4 separate regions of the Homo sapiens genome follow, and regions 1, 2 and 3 are each linked to region 4. The links are contacts of gene promoters, found by promoter capture Hi-C in blood cells and fetal thymus (Javierre and others, 2016). All regions are on one chromosome and are shown on one strand. The core of a region is centred on a gene start or on the middle of the fragment in contact, and the rest is flanking DNA. Distances in the headings are between cores, read along the strand shown. Region 1 holds the start of FGFR1OP2 (FGFR1 oncogene partner 2). Region 2 overlaps ERGIC2 (ERGIC and golgi 2). Region 3 holds the start of TM7SF3 (transmembrane 7 superfamily member 3). Region 4 holds the start of CCDC91 (coiled-coil domain containing 91).

What was found. Contacts are between HindIII fragments. The CHiCAGO score rates a contact against its expected background, and 5 or more counts as called.
Region 1: the fragment with the promoter of FGFR1OP2 here is called in contact with the fragment with the promoter of CCDC91 in region 4 in 1 of 17 cell types (non-activated CD4 T cells); the score reaches 5.4 in non-activated CD4 T cells.
Region 2: a contact is called between a fragment that was not itself captured here and the fragment with the promoter of CCDC91 in region 4, in 2 of 17 cell types (naive B cells and non-activated CD4 T cells). The highest score is 8.3, in naive B cells.
Region 3: the fragment with the promoter of TM7SF3 here is called in contact with the fragment with the promoter of CCDC91 in region 4 in 1 of 17 cell types (naive CD4 T cells); the score reaches 5.3 in naive CD4 T cells.

The regions. Positions count from the first base shown.
Region 1 is chr12:26,937,121-26,939,953 of GRCh38, forward strand. FGFR1OP2 (FGFR1 oncogene partner 2) reads left to right here and starts at 1,350. Exons shown (of 7, transcript NM_015633.3): 1 at 1,350-1,590. INTS13 (integrator complex subunit 13) reads right to left here and starts at 861. Exons shown (of 17, transcript NM_018164.3): 1 at 676-861. RefSeq lists enhancers at 1,166-1,675, 1,404-1,453, 1,676-2,184 and a silencer at 1,714-1,783. The HindIII fragment of the contact is 20,390 bases long and covers 1-2,833 here.
Region 2 is chr12:29,373,829-29,376,667 of GRCh38, forward strand. All of the region lies in intron 1 of ERGIC2 (ERGIC and golgi 2), which reads right to left. Among named protein-coding and RNA genes, the nearest start is that of ERGIC2, 5.9 kb to the right of the region's middle. The HindIII fragment of the contact is 2,633 bases long and covers 31-2,663 here.
Region 3 is chr12:27,012,724-27,015,646 of GRCh38, forward strand. TM7SF3 (transmembrane 7 superfamily member 3) reads right to left here and starts at 1,661. Exons shown (of 12, transcript NM_016551.3): 1 at 1,355-1,661. The coding sequence starts at 1,445. RefSeq lists a silencer at 1,354-1,853. The HindIII fragment of the contact is 5,016 bases long and covers 670-2,923 here.
Region 4 is chr12:28,188,806-28,191,750 of GRCh38, forward strand. CCDC91 (coiled-coil domain containing 91) reads left to right here and starts at 1,651. Exons shown (of 13, transcript NM_018318.5): 1 at 1,651-1,836. LOC729291 (a long non-coding RNA gene) reads right to left here and starts at 1,933. Exons shown (of 1, transcript NR_148936.1): 1 at 1-1,933. RefSeq lists silencers at 1,618-1,667, 1,698-2,127, 2,811-2,945. The HindIII fragment of the contact is 1,439 bases long and covers 1,013-2,451 here.

The DNA.
Region 1 (2,833 bases), core at 100-2,599, 1.3 Mb before region 4:
TTTGATTCCCTTACATATACGAAACATAAGTGACAAAGACTCTTGAAATACAACTTTATGATCCTTGCTAATTGACATTAGTCACATATAAACCCCAAGCCAGCATTTTTGCACTTCCCTCCAAGAAAAACGTTTGAAGGGGGACTGGCGGGTAGGGGTGCGGAATTAACAGGAAAGAGGAGTGACAGCAAAAGAAAAGGCCAAAACAAAGATAAACATCTCCTAAGATAACCGCACATCAGGTCTTCGCCTTAGGATAAGGACCCCAACTTCACACTCTCCCCTTAGCTTTTGAAACATCACAGTAATTTACCAGGTAGAGCAGAAAAACTTAGTTGTTACCATCACACTGGTGTGTAGAAGGAAATTTAAAACTTTTAAAACTTTTTCTTATTAAAACAGAGCATACGGTACTCCCCTGCTTCGCTAACAAAATCTTATACTGAATAGACAATCCACATTCGAAAAGCACATGGCAAGCAAAGCCAAAGTGTTAAATCAAAACGAACTGATTTCTTACGATCCAGCTATTTTCACCTCTTGCTTTCAAGACGCATCTCCCCTTCATGCAAAACTCTCTTTGAGAAACCTTCTAGACCCACTTTGCTGGAGGGTGGGGGGTGGAAAATACAAGGTGAGTGGATAGGGAAGACCTCAGGATCGAGGTTCGCTTACTTTCGTGCCTGGTCCTGCAGTGAAAACGAACAGAGGCTATGGACCACAGCCTCTCTGGAAAAGGCTGCTGGCTGGGCGGGGAGAGTCAGCGCACAGTCGGGAGTGTCTGGTGCCACAGACAGGGGACTATGCTTTCCCCGATCATCTCCTAGCACACCGGTCCTTCCCAGGCTTCCTAAGAGCAGGAGCGCGCGTGCGCGTGCACACACACACACGCACTCGGGCTCGCGCGTGCGCACAGCGCTCTCCGATAGCCCGGCCAAGCCTCCCTTCCCCCTCGTAGGGCCAGGCGTCCCAGTCGCCGAACAGGAAGAGGGCGGGGCCAAGGAGGAAAAAAAAAGCCTCCACCCCTCGAGATTTTCCACCCGCTAATTTTCCCAGTCACCCATTGGGAAGCAGGATCTGGGCGACCTGAAAGCCTCCCCAACAGCGAAGTACCAACCACGGCCCCCTAAGCGTACGACCCACCCACCCGGTCTCCCCTTCTCTGTCTCTCCACCCAGGCCGGTTTCCCCTGGAAAAACTCGCGAGACTTTGCGAGAGGCCGAGCGAAAGCCTGGGAAGGGAGGAATAGGGAGGGACATAGAAGGGCCCCGCCCTGCCTTCTGGGGCAAAGCGGAGAGTGGTCGGTTCTGCCCCACAGTAACGCGAGGAAAGAAATCTCGCGAGGCTGGAGTTCTCCGGGAGCGCCGGTCGGAGGCGGTCGGCGGAGGTGTCTACCCCGCCGGTGATGGCGTTGAACGCCACTGGCTTCCCGGCCTTCCGTCCGCTGCCTCCGTCCGATTCTGCGTCTGCTTGCTGAGGAGGCGGATTAGGGGGGCGCGGAGTCTCTTCCCTTGAGTGCATAGGTCCCGGTTGGTAGAGGGTTTGAGTCCGCATCGCCACAGCTGAAGGCTGCGAGGGACTAAGAGCAGAGTAAGTGGACTAAATCCAGGGACGGGAGCAGGGGTGGGCGAGTCGGAGGCGTCCTTTGCCGGGGCAGTCCTTCGCCGGGGCCGGTGCCTTGCGCCTCTTGAACCACCGGCGCCCGGCCCTGTCCGCTTCCCGCCGCGGGCTCCCTGCTCCTGGGAGCCGGACTTCCTCTCCGCGCCCCCCGACTCCGAGCTCCTCTTAATGGAGATGCGGTGCGGAAAGTTCAATGAAAAGCCTTGGCTCTAACCCTGTGGACACACCTTCCGTATCTGCTTTCATCCTGCCTTACCCACCTGCGAGTTCACCACCGGACGGGGGACCCTTTCAGTCACCTGTTTGCAGCGTTTAATGAAGATAACTTGTTTCTTGAAACTGCTCTCCAAGGGGTATTACTCTTTTCTGGTTCTCTTCCTGCCTTTCTTCTCTATCCCATCTCTGATAATGGTTCCAGTATCTGTCCTGCTATCCGAACTAGAAAACCAGGAATCATCATTGGTTCTTCATTTCCACTTAACACTGCACTGTATTATTTTTTTTTTCGCCAGAATTAGTGCGGTTGCCCCCTCTGCCCCCCGCCCTCCACTGGTTTCCCTACTATAATCCTTCCATAGAGTTATTCTGAAATACATATTTATCTCTGTCCTTTCCTTAAACTTTTTAGTAACCGTATTGCTGACAGCATCAAATCCTAATTGTTAAGCACATCATCATTCAGGATCTTTTACAGTCTGCCCCAATCCATTTTACCTTTTAGTCCTGCTTTAATATCCTACCATACAAGACTATACTGGCTATTTCCCCAAACATGCCATGCGCTTTGACAGCTCTGTACTTTTGTACGTGCGGATGTCTAGGATGTTTACTGTTCCTCTATTTTACCACCTGTCAAAACCCAATTCATAAATCATTGTCTTCTCAGACTCCCCCAGGTGACATTGATACCGCTGTGCTCCCAACGCATTTGAAACTTTTCTTCTGCAGTATTTATTAGGTTGTATTATTTGTTTCTGTCTCTCCTGCCAATTTGAACCTGGGTCTGTCTGGAATCATGTCTTACTCATCTCTGAGAAAAAGTCCAGTACTTGGCACATAGCAAGCATTATTTATATATACATATGTATGTTTATTGAAATGGAATAGTTCTAAGGAATTCACCGTAAGAGTTCTTCATCCTTTAAAATCATAGAATTTTGGGCCAGAAGGAACTCTGTACATTAGCTTAAAGGTCCCGACCTATTTTGATTAT
Region 2 (2,839 bases), core at 97-2,596, 1.2 Mb after region 4:
TATAAAACTGGTATTCCCATCGATAAATTAAGCTTCTGAATGTTTGTTATGTATATGCCATGCCCGCTAAACTTGTTTAGCTCTGATAATCAAATTTATTTTCTGTACCTTTTTAGTAGTAACTGCACAAAAACTGACCCTTTTTCAATCTTTCAATTTCTACTCTTTCTGATTTGAGTAAAATATTAAATATCTGTATGTCTCTTCTCTTTAAAACAGAACTCTCCCTTAAACTCAAGTCCAACTCCAACAATACATCTCTCGCAGCACACCTACAGCCAACTTAAAAGAATGAGTTGTCCCCATTCATCTACTGTGACTACTTCCTCACCCAACTCTCACCTCTTAACTAAATTTGCTCTGAGCAAGGTAATTAACTTCCTTAGTACTGACAGACACTCCTCAGTCCTTATCTAACTGCACCTCTGAGAAAACACACTGCTTATCACTTCTTTTTCTTCTCGAAACATTCTCTTACCTTGACTTAAGTGATATCACATCCCCAATTTTCATTCTACCTGGAAAACCCTCTTTGGCTTACTGTGCAAATTCATCTTTCTCTCAAGATTCTGCACTAGGTCTCCCCCTTAACCTCCACACCTTCCCCAAATGATCGCCCACTCCTTCCATTTCAATCTGCATGTTGATTTATCCCAAATCTTGATTCTCTGCCCAGATCTCTCTGCAGATATGTATAACCCCTTGCCTTCTGTTACCTTTTCATTTGGACATTCCAAACACAATTCAGACTCAACAAGTCCAAAAATGAATACTTCACCCTGTAAAAATTGTTCCTCCTGTATCTATCTTAATGATAACACCATAAGCCCAACTACACAAGCCAGAAACATGGGTTATATCTTTAGACTTAAGCTATTTCTAAATTTCTCTTAAATCTGCCTGTCTTCTCTTCTTCAGGCCTACTGAGAAATTCCTTATGTCCAAGTATGTTCCTAGTCCCAACTGCCACAATCTATCACTACATTGCTTCAACAACCTCTAATCTTCAACCTTCCAATTCTCTCTCTATACTGTAATAATAAATTATCTTTTTAATACATAAATCTGATATTTCTCTTCAAATCTTTGTAAAACTTCCCTTCCCACTACACTTAAGAGCTTGGATTCTATCCTAACATGTTTTACAAAGCCCTTCAAAAACCAGGTCCTGCTAACCTCTCTTCAAACCCAATCACTCACAGTCTACGTTCCAACCATATTAAATCACTTTCAATTCCTTAAATATCCTATTCTCTTTGCCAGAAATATTTTTTCTTCCCCCTACCGCATCTCTACATTTGACTAACTCCTACTTACTCTTCAAGGTCCAGTCTACTCATCTCTACCTTGAGCAAGCAGGGGGAACAAAAAAACTTTCCATGGCCTTCAAAGTCTATCTGCTTCTAGAACGTTGTACCTTTATCACACTATTTCTAATTGCCTCTTTTTCTGTTTCCTCCACCGGATTGTTAGAGCAGGAACCATGTCTAACTTGATCTTTGTATCTCCAATGCCTAGCGAACAGGTATTCAATATTTATTGAGAAAAGGAAGGAAGGAAATTTTCCCAGAAACACCACAGTAGCACATCTTTCAAATCACAGCAGTATGTCATACTTAGGTAAGTAAATATATAAAAATAAGATCCACAAGAAGGATTTTCCTGTTGTCTACTGTCCCAGGACCTAGAACAGTGGCCATCACATAGTCAGTATAGCACTGTTAAACAAATGAATAAAACAGTGAATTACATTTCTAAAAGTTTATATAAATGTTATATTTGTATAATGAGCTTTCTAAATGCTCTTTTAATTTATATATAAGCATAAAGATACGGCAAGCAGTTAGTTTTACAAATCTCCTAATAATACATACAACCTATTCAACACTCCTCCCTTGAAAGTCTAGCTGGAATATATCATGTGGCTCCCTACCCATCTCTAGCTTCCTCCATCCCTGTTTTCCAGGGGATATCACTCTAGAATGGAGCACCTCGCCCCTCAGCTACTCCACCAGTCCCATTCCTGAAAGCTCAGCACTAACCTACCTCCAAGAAATTCATTCCATTTTGCATACTTGCCAACCTACTGTAAAAGTCACTGTCTGGCATAAACAAGGTATCCAATAACTTCTAGCTTTTCTAAAAGAAATTGCTGTCTGCTCTCTTTATAAAACCTGACTTTCTATTGGCAGCAGTTCCATTCCAATCCTTAGTCATTTCTGAGACTCACAGGTTACAGAAGTATCATGTTTTACCATATTTCTCAACCATCTCTCATGTTTTGTGCTATGTATTATTTGAAGCTCTTTAAACATTAATTCATTTAATCTTGTAAATGACTCTATGAAGCAGCAGGTACTATTTTTAATCCTACTTTTTGATGAGGAAATGAGGCACAGAACTGTCAAATAATTTTCCCAGGCTACATAGCAGGTGGTAGAACTTGAAACTATGCTCCAAACCACAGTACACACTGATTCTCACTTCCGTACTTGTTGCTATATTCCACTAACATCTGAATATATTCATAATTTGCTTAATGACTTCAGCACCCAGATCATTCAATATGCTTCTCCCCCACTCCATTATCATCCTTTGGAATTCATGCTCTGATGGCATTTATCCTATAGCATTCATTCACAATAAAACCTTTTTACCATGTAAGCTTAACAGCGCTTCTCCTCCTGTGACCTCCATCTTAATTCTATGGAAAGCCACCCATGAGCAAGGTCAACCCTTAAAACTGTTCCACCTCTAAAATCCAAAACACATTTACCTCCCCAAGTAGGAACTACCCTTCAAGCTCTTTCCTAAGATAAATCTGCTCTTCATTTTCACT
Region 3 (2,923 bases), core at 411-2,910, 1.2 Mb before region 4:
GCGCGGTGGCTCATGCCTGTAATCCCAGCACTCTGGGAGGCCAAGGCGGGCAGATCACGAGGTCAGGAGTTCGAGACCAGCCTGAACAACATGGTGAAACCCCGCCTGTACTAAAAATACAAAAACTAGCTGGGTGTGGTGGCGGGCGCCTGTAATCCCAGCTACTCTGGAGGCTGAGGCAGGAGAATTGCTTGAACCCGGGTGTCGGAGGTTGCAGTCAGCCAAGATCATGCCACTGCACTCCAGCCTAGGCGACAGAGCGAGACTCCGTCAAAAAAAAAAAAAAAAAAAGTCACCTGAAATCATCAAAAATGGTGTACTCATAGGGAGCCAAGCCCGGGCATGTTGCTTCTTGGCTCCCACAGGTGAATTTGAAGTGGCAATAGAACTTCGTTGATTCTTGTTTTTCTCATTTTAGTTTTACTCTCTATTAAATTGTTATTTTTTACAGTTCATTTATGGATGACAAGTTATTTCCTGTTGGTAGCTGCAATGATTGGGAATTTTGTGATCTCTGTAAACGAATTAATATCTCATAGAGATCTATTTCCTGTTGGATATGAGACAACAGAGAACACAGTTTTTGTCCATTTGTCTTTTTTAAGGTCAAATCGATTAGAAATTTCTTGCCCTCAAGTAAGGAGAACAACTCTGATACCTGGACTGGCAAGCTTTTGTGTTTCTGTGTTTATTTTTCATTTGTGGCTGAACTTGTAGAATTGAGGGTATACACATTCTATCTGTATGTCTATGTATCTGTAATTCAGAAAGTCCTTTATTTCTCATTGTGAGTATGGAATGTTTTCCTGTCTCCAGATGGTATTAATAAATTAGATGGTAAAGGCTCTTTAAAAATAAAGCCTCATTATGGGTTCATTTTCCCTCTCAAACTCTGTAGAACATAACCAGTTTGAAAAGCCTCTAGATTTGGGGGTGTAAAAATTCCATGCAGCTTGAGAGCCATCAGTCATTAAGCCGCTAGTTCCACCCCAAGTCTTGCTGTCCAGAAGCTCAGACAGTCCACTGGGCAGCAAAGAGGCGCTTTAGTAAGTTGAATTAAAGCCACAAACATGGCTGCTCCCTAAGGGAGATAATACTGTGTTAAAAAAAGAGAATTATTTATCTCTTCCCATTTCCTCCGCTAAATGAGGAGGTTAATAGTAAGACCTCCTTAGCCATGAGTGTTTCCGCTGCAGGAAACACCATTCGTGCCGGTTCTGGACTCACCACCCAGCGTGTACCAACGCCCCCAGCACCATCTCCCTGCTAGGCTGACAGACCCCTGGCGGATTTTGACCTCGCAAGAAATGCAAAAGCAACTTTGGGTTGCAGAAGCCAGGCGCCCCGACCTTACCCTCGCTGGAATTCCCGAAGACCTCGGCTGCACCAGCCACCCGGTGTTCGGATGCCAGCACCGCTACGACCAGCAGCTGCAGGAACCCCATTGCTGCCTGGGCCGGGCTGGGCCCACGCCAGGGCTGGGGAGAGGTGCGGGCGTGCGCGCCGGGGCCCCGCAGCCTCGCCCACGCTATCCCGGGGCGCCCGCATCGGGCGCCATCGCCCGCCAGGTGCAGACGCTTCGCACCTGCCAGCTCCGCAGCCGCCGGCGCGCGCCCCGCCGAACTCCTAGCCCCAGCGAGAGGTTTCCTCTTCCGGCACCTGACCCCCAACGCGCGTTCCCGCGCCTCCTCCCGGGCTCTCGCTGCGTCACAGCGGCGGGTCTCTGGGCGCGGGCGGCGCTGGGGCGTTTCCAGGCAGCGCGCGCCTCCTGCCGGCGCGCGGGGAACGCGCAGCCTGCGGTGCTCCCGGGAGCCCCCAGGAAGTCCTGGCTTGAGGCCCGGTCTTGCCCCACTTTTATCTCACCAAGTAGGCAAACCCACTGTGAAAGTACAAAATAACTTTCTGTTGCGGACTAACGTCGCCAGGCTCCTGTTTCCGTGTTTAACGGCCCTTTACAACAGCAAAAAAGAGGAATCAGTTGCTAAAAACACAATTGAAGGTTATTTCCCCCGGTAGCAATTGTCTTCGCTGCTGAGGCTTATGTTAGCATAAAAATGCCAGGAGAATGCTGTTTGTGTAGTGGTTACCGCACTAGTCATAAGCACTACATTTAAAAGTAGTTTCGTTTTCTCTAAGCGAAATATCCTCGAAGACACGGCCTTGGTCTGAACTTCGTCTCAAGTCTCATACCTGAGTGCTGTTTGAGGGACAGTAGTCCATGTGACAGATGGCTCATCGATGATGTGGAATTAGACGCATAGACTTAACGTTATTTGGGGAGGATTGTCTTGCTTTCCTTCCCTGGTTTTAATTTTTTTCACTTATATATTTTGATGAGCAACTTATAGCTTGGAAATTACATGTTCAGTTAGTCCACTACTAAGCTAACAATATATAGCTGTGACCATAATGTGAAGAAGTGTTAAAGACAAAATTATTCAATGATACTTGTTAAAGCACCGAACGAAGACTATTGAGGACTGTCTCAATTGGCATAGGGACCACTGCAACTGGGTCTTGCAGTGGGGAAGAGGGACTGGGCTCAACTCCGAATACAGCGTGGGCAAGAGGGAATTTATAGCCAACCAGCAGTATGGAGTTCAGTGGATGGAAAATTACTAAGAGGAAGCATCAGAGGTAAGGGGCATTTGGTGAAACTGACCTAACAGGACTTCTGAAGACATAACATCACCTGGGGGATGGTGCAGGGTGAGAAAACTGATTAGATATGGAGGAAAGGGGGTTCTTTGCTAAAACTGGATTTTTACAAAGAAGTGCACAGATGGACCTAGCAGAAGATTCAGAAGCCGTACTAGAGTTTGGCCAAGCAAATAATCTTTGTCATAGGCACAATTCTTTCTCTGCTTTCCCACTGCCTGGTCCAAATTTTCACACCTTTGGTAGCACTATCTATTTCTGTAGT
Region 4 (2,945 bases), core at 401-2,900:
TAATCTAATGCCAGGCACATAGCAAATATTAATAATAAATATTAGTTACTTATTATAAATCTGTTTAGTATGGAATACAGTTTAGTATTGAATATCGGGACAGAGTGAACATGTAAGTACATCAATGGGAAGGAACTCCCAGAAACTAATCTGGTTTCCAGCAGAAAGAGATATGAGAGACAAAATAATATAAAGGTAACCTTACTAAGTTTAAGAAATATTTATGAATACCTTTTTTCTAACTACTAGACACTTTGCTAGACTGCTGGATACACAAAGACAAATGAGAAGTGAGTAGATTGCTGGATATACAAGTGAGAAGTGGTCCTTGACTTGGTAGTCTAGTAGACAGATAAAAAAATATGTGTAAGAAAGCATTACATTTCTTACAATAGAAATGTTTTTTGTATGCATAAAGAAGGGGGTGGGCTGGAAAAAGAATGTAGTCAAGGTGACTTGCTCAATACTGAAACTGCTCATTAACTACTTAGGCCAGCACTTATGGCAGACTTGTCAGGATGCCTTGCTAATATTTTCCACTTCCAGTACAGAACAGAGATTACAGGTTTAAGCCAATTTTGTTCAACAGATGAGAAACCCAGTGTCCAAGGATGAAAGAATACTTGTTATACAAGGAATGTGAATATTCCAGAGATTTATGCTCAAAGTCCCCAGGTTAGTGTCTTTCTTTCTCACTAGACTGTAAGCTTCTTGAAGACAAATATCTTGAGTGTTACCTTGCTCACTCTTGAATTGTCAAAACTTGGCCCAGGACTAGGTATGTGGTATACAATCAATAAAAATTTGTTGAATGAATGTTCTTCAAAATCCTTCCATGGCAAAAACAGAAGAAACATTCACGAGTGGACTGCTAGTTGACTGTTTCTCTCATCGCTATTGACAGTCTGAAATGGACAAAGACATCTATATAATCATTCCTTCCTTTCAAATAAATAATCTGTGAATTACGCTATTCTTTTCCTATTGCTTCAGGACAAGCTATTTGACAGAAAGCTTTTAAGAAAGGCTTTGCAAGAAAACTCTGCAACAGAGATGGCACGTATGAATTGCTGTGATCTGGAGTTGAAGACAAGAACAAAAGTAACTCTAGAGCAGAATTCTTTGACCAAAGTCATCTTACTGGTTGGCGGAGGCTCTCAGTCTACTTGCATCCGGTGCTTGAGAGTTCAGACAGGCAAAGATGAGAGGTAGCATCTAGTCAACATCCATTTCTTGAGCACTTACTACATGTCAGCCACTTTGCTTAGTCCCCGGTTTTACTGTGCTCTGCTAGGAAGTGGTGAAGAGATTCGGCGGGATCTTCTTAGGACCAATCCTACAAAGTTCCAGATGGAACTCATTTTGATTTGGGGGACGGTTTACTTGCAGGGATTAGGTGGAGAAACAGGGCCTGCTACTCAAGAGGAATGAGAAACTGTAACTAACAGGAGGTAGACTGGGAAGGAGCATGGCAAAGTCACCCCTTTTCACAGGGCAACGCTCCAAAGACCACGCTCAAGCTGGGGTGGCAGGGCTCTGAACATGGGGCCCCGACCCGGGCCTCGGCCTGGGGCCACGTGACGCGCGTGTTTACGTTGAGTGACGGGCGCTGTGTTGGGCGGGCCTTGGCGGAAATCAACTTCCGGGGGCAGAGGTGTTCGAAGCCGGGTGGTGCGTGGGCTACCCCAACCTGTGTGGCTGGGCCGCGGTCTCCCCTCAAGGGCCTGGGGCCGTGCCTCGGGTGTACGCGTAGGGGTCTGTGTGCTGGGGGTGGCTCACCGGGCAGCGTGGGTGAGCGGCGCAGCGGCGGCAGCGGAGAGCGAGAGAGGGGAGCAGGTAAGTGAACGCTCGCCTTCCGGGGCCTGGGTCTTGGGGTCGGGGCCGCGCGAGGCGAGCGGAGAGCGCCCCACCGGGGGAGGAGCGCGGACGAGCTTCCGCCGCCTGCAGCCCGCCTGCTGCGGCCTCGCCCTTGGCTGTCGCAGCGACCAGGAGTCAGGGGGCGTGACCAACCTCCTGCGGGAACGGAGCCAGCTCCCGGGGGTGGGAGTGCCCACTCGTTCCTGCGCTCGCCGGTGGGTACCGGTATCTGCACGTCCCAGAATCGAGTGTTTTCGAAAGTCTACGCCCACGAACACGTGATTATTGTGTCACCGAAGCGCCTACCGAACGGAGACCTTGATTCTTGCTTAGATTACACAGAACGCGCCTGGTTTATGTATCCCCTTTTACTTTGCCAAGTACATTGGGGTAAAAGCTCTACAGCGTCTGCCAGCCACATTTCCTTAGAGTTTCTTGGGCCACATGTTGCAATAAAAGTGGCATTTCAGGGTCAAGGCAGGAGCCAGTAACTTTGCCAAGTGGTGAGGTATCCTTCGTCCCCGTTAGCACGCCTCCCTTTCCCAACAATAAAGATATTTTCTCCATCTGCGCGTGTCGCCTACTGCGGAGGAAAGCTTTGGACATGAAACCTATTTTTGGCTTCACTTTAAGGAGTGGAACTCTATTAAAAGCTGCGCTGGTGTTTTTTTGGTAGGATGATGTTGCTGCTGCTACTCTCACTTGCTTCCTTGATGAGAGTTGGGGCAGAGCTCGATTTCCTGGAGGGTAAAGTCTTGGCCACAATTTTAGGTGACTCAGCGGCCCCTTATGAATTCTGACTCTTTCCTTCCCTCCCCTCTCAGCTGTGCGGATACTGATGCCACCTTTCTCTCCAAATATTAATCCGGGTGGGAGTTGGATGATGGTTTTTGGAAGCAGTTTGCATGTTGCGTGGTGGAGTTATTGGAGTGGGCTGACATTTTACTTCACAATTTAAGGCAACCCTTCCCCCCCCCACAATATTTAGTTGGGTGGGGTGACAGGGACTGACAACAAATTCGCTGTTGTGTTCCCTGCTGTCGGAGAGTTCTACACTTAATGATCACCTGATTGCCCTCTGCTACAAT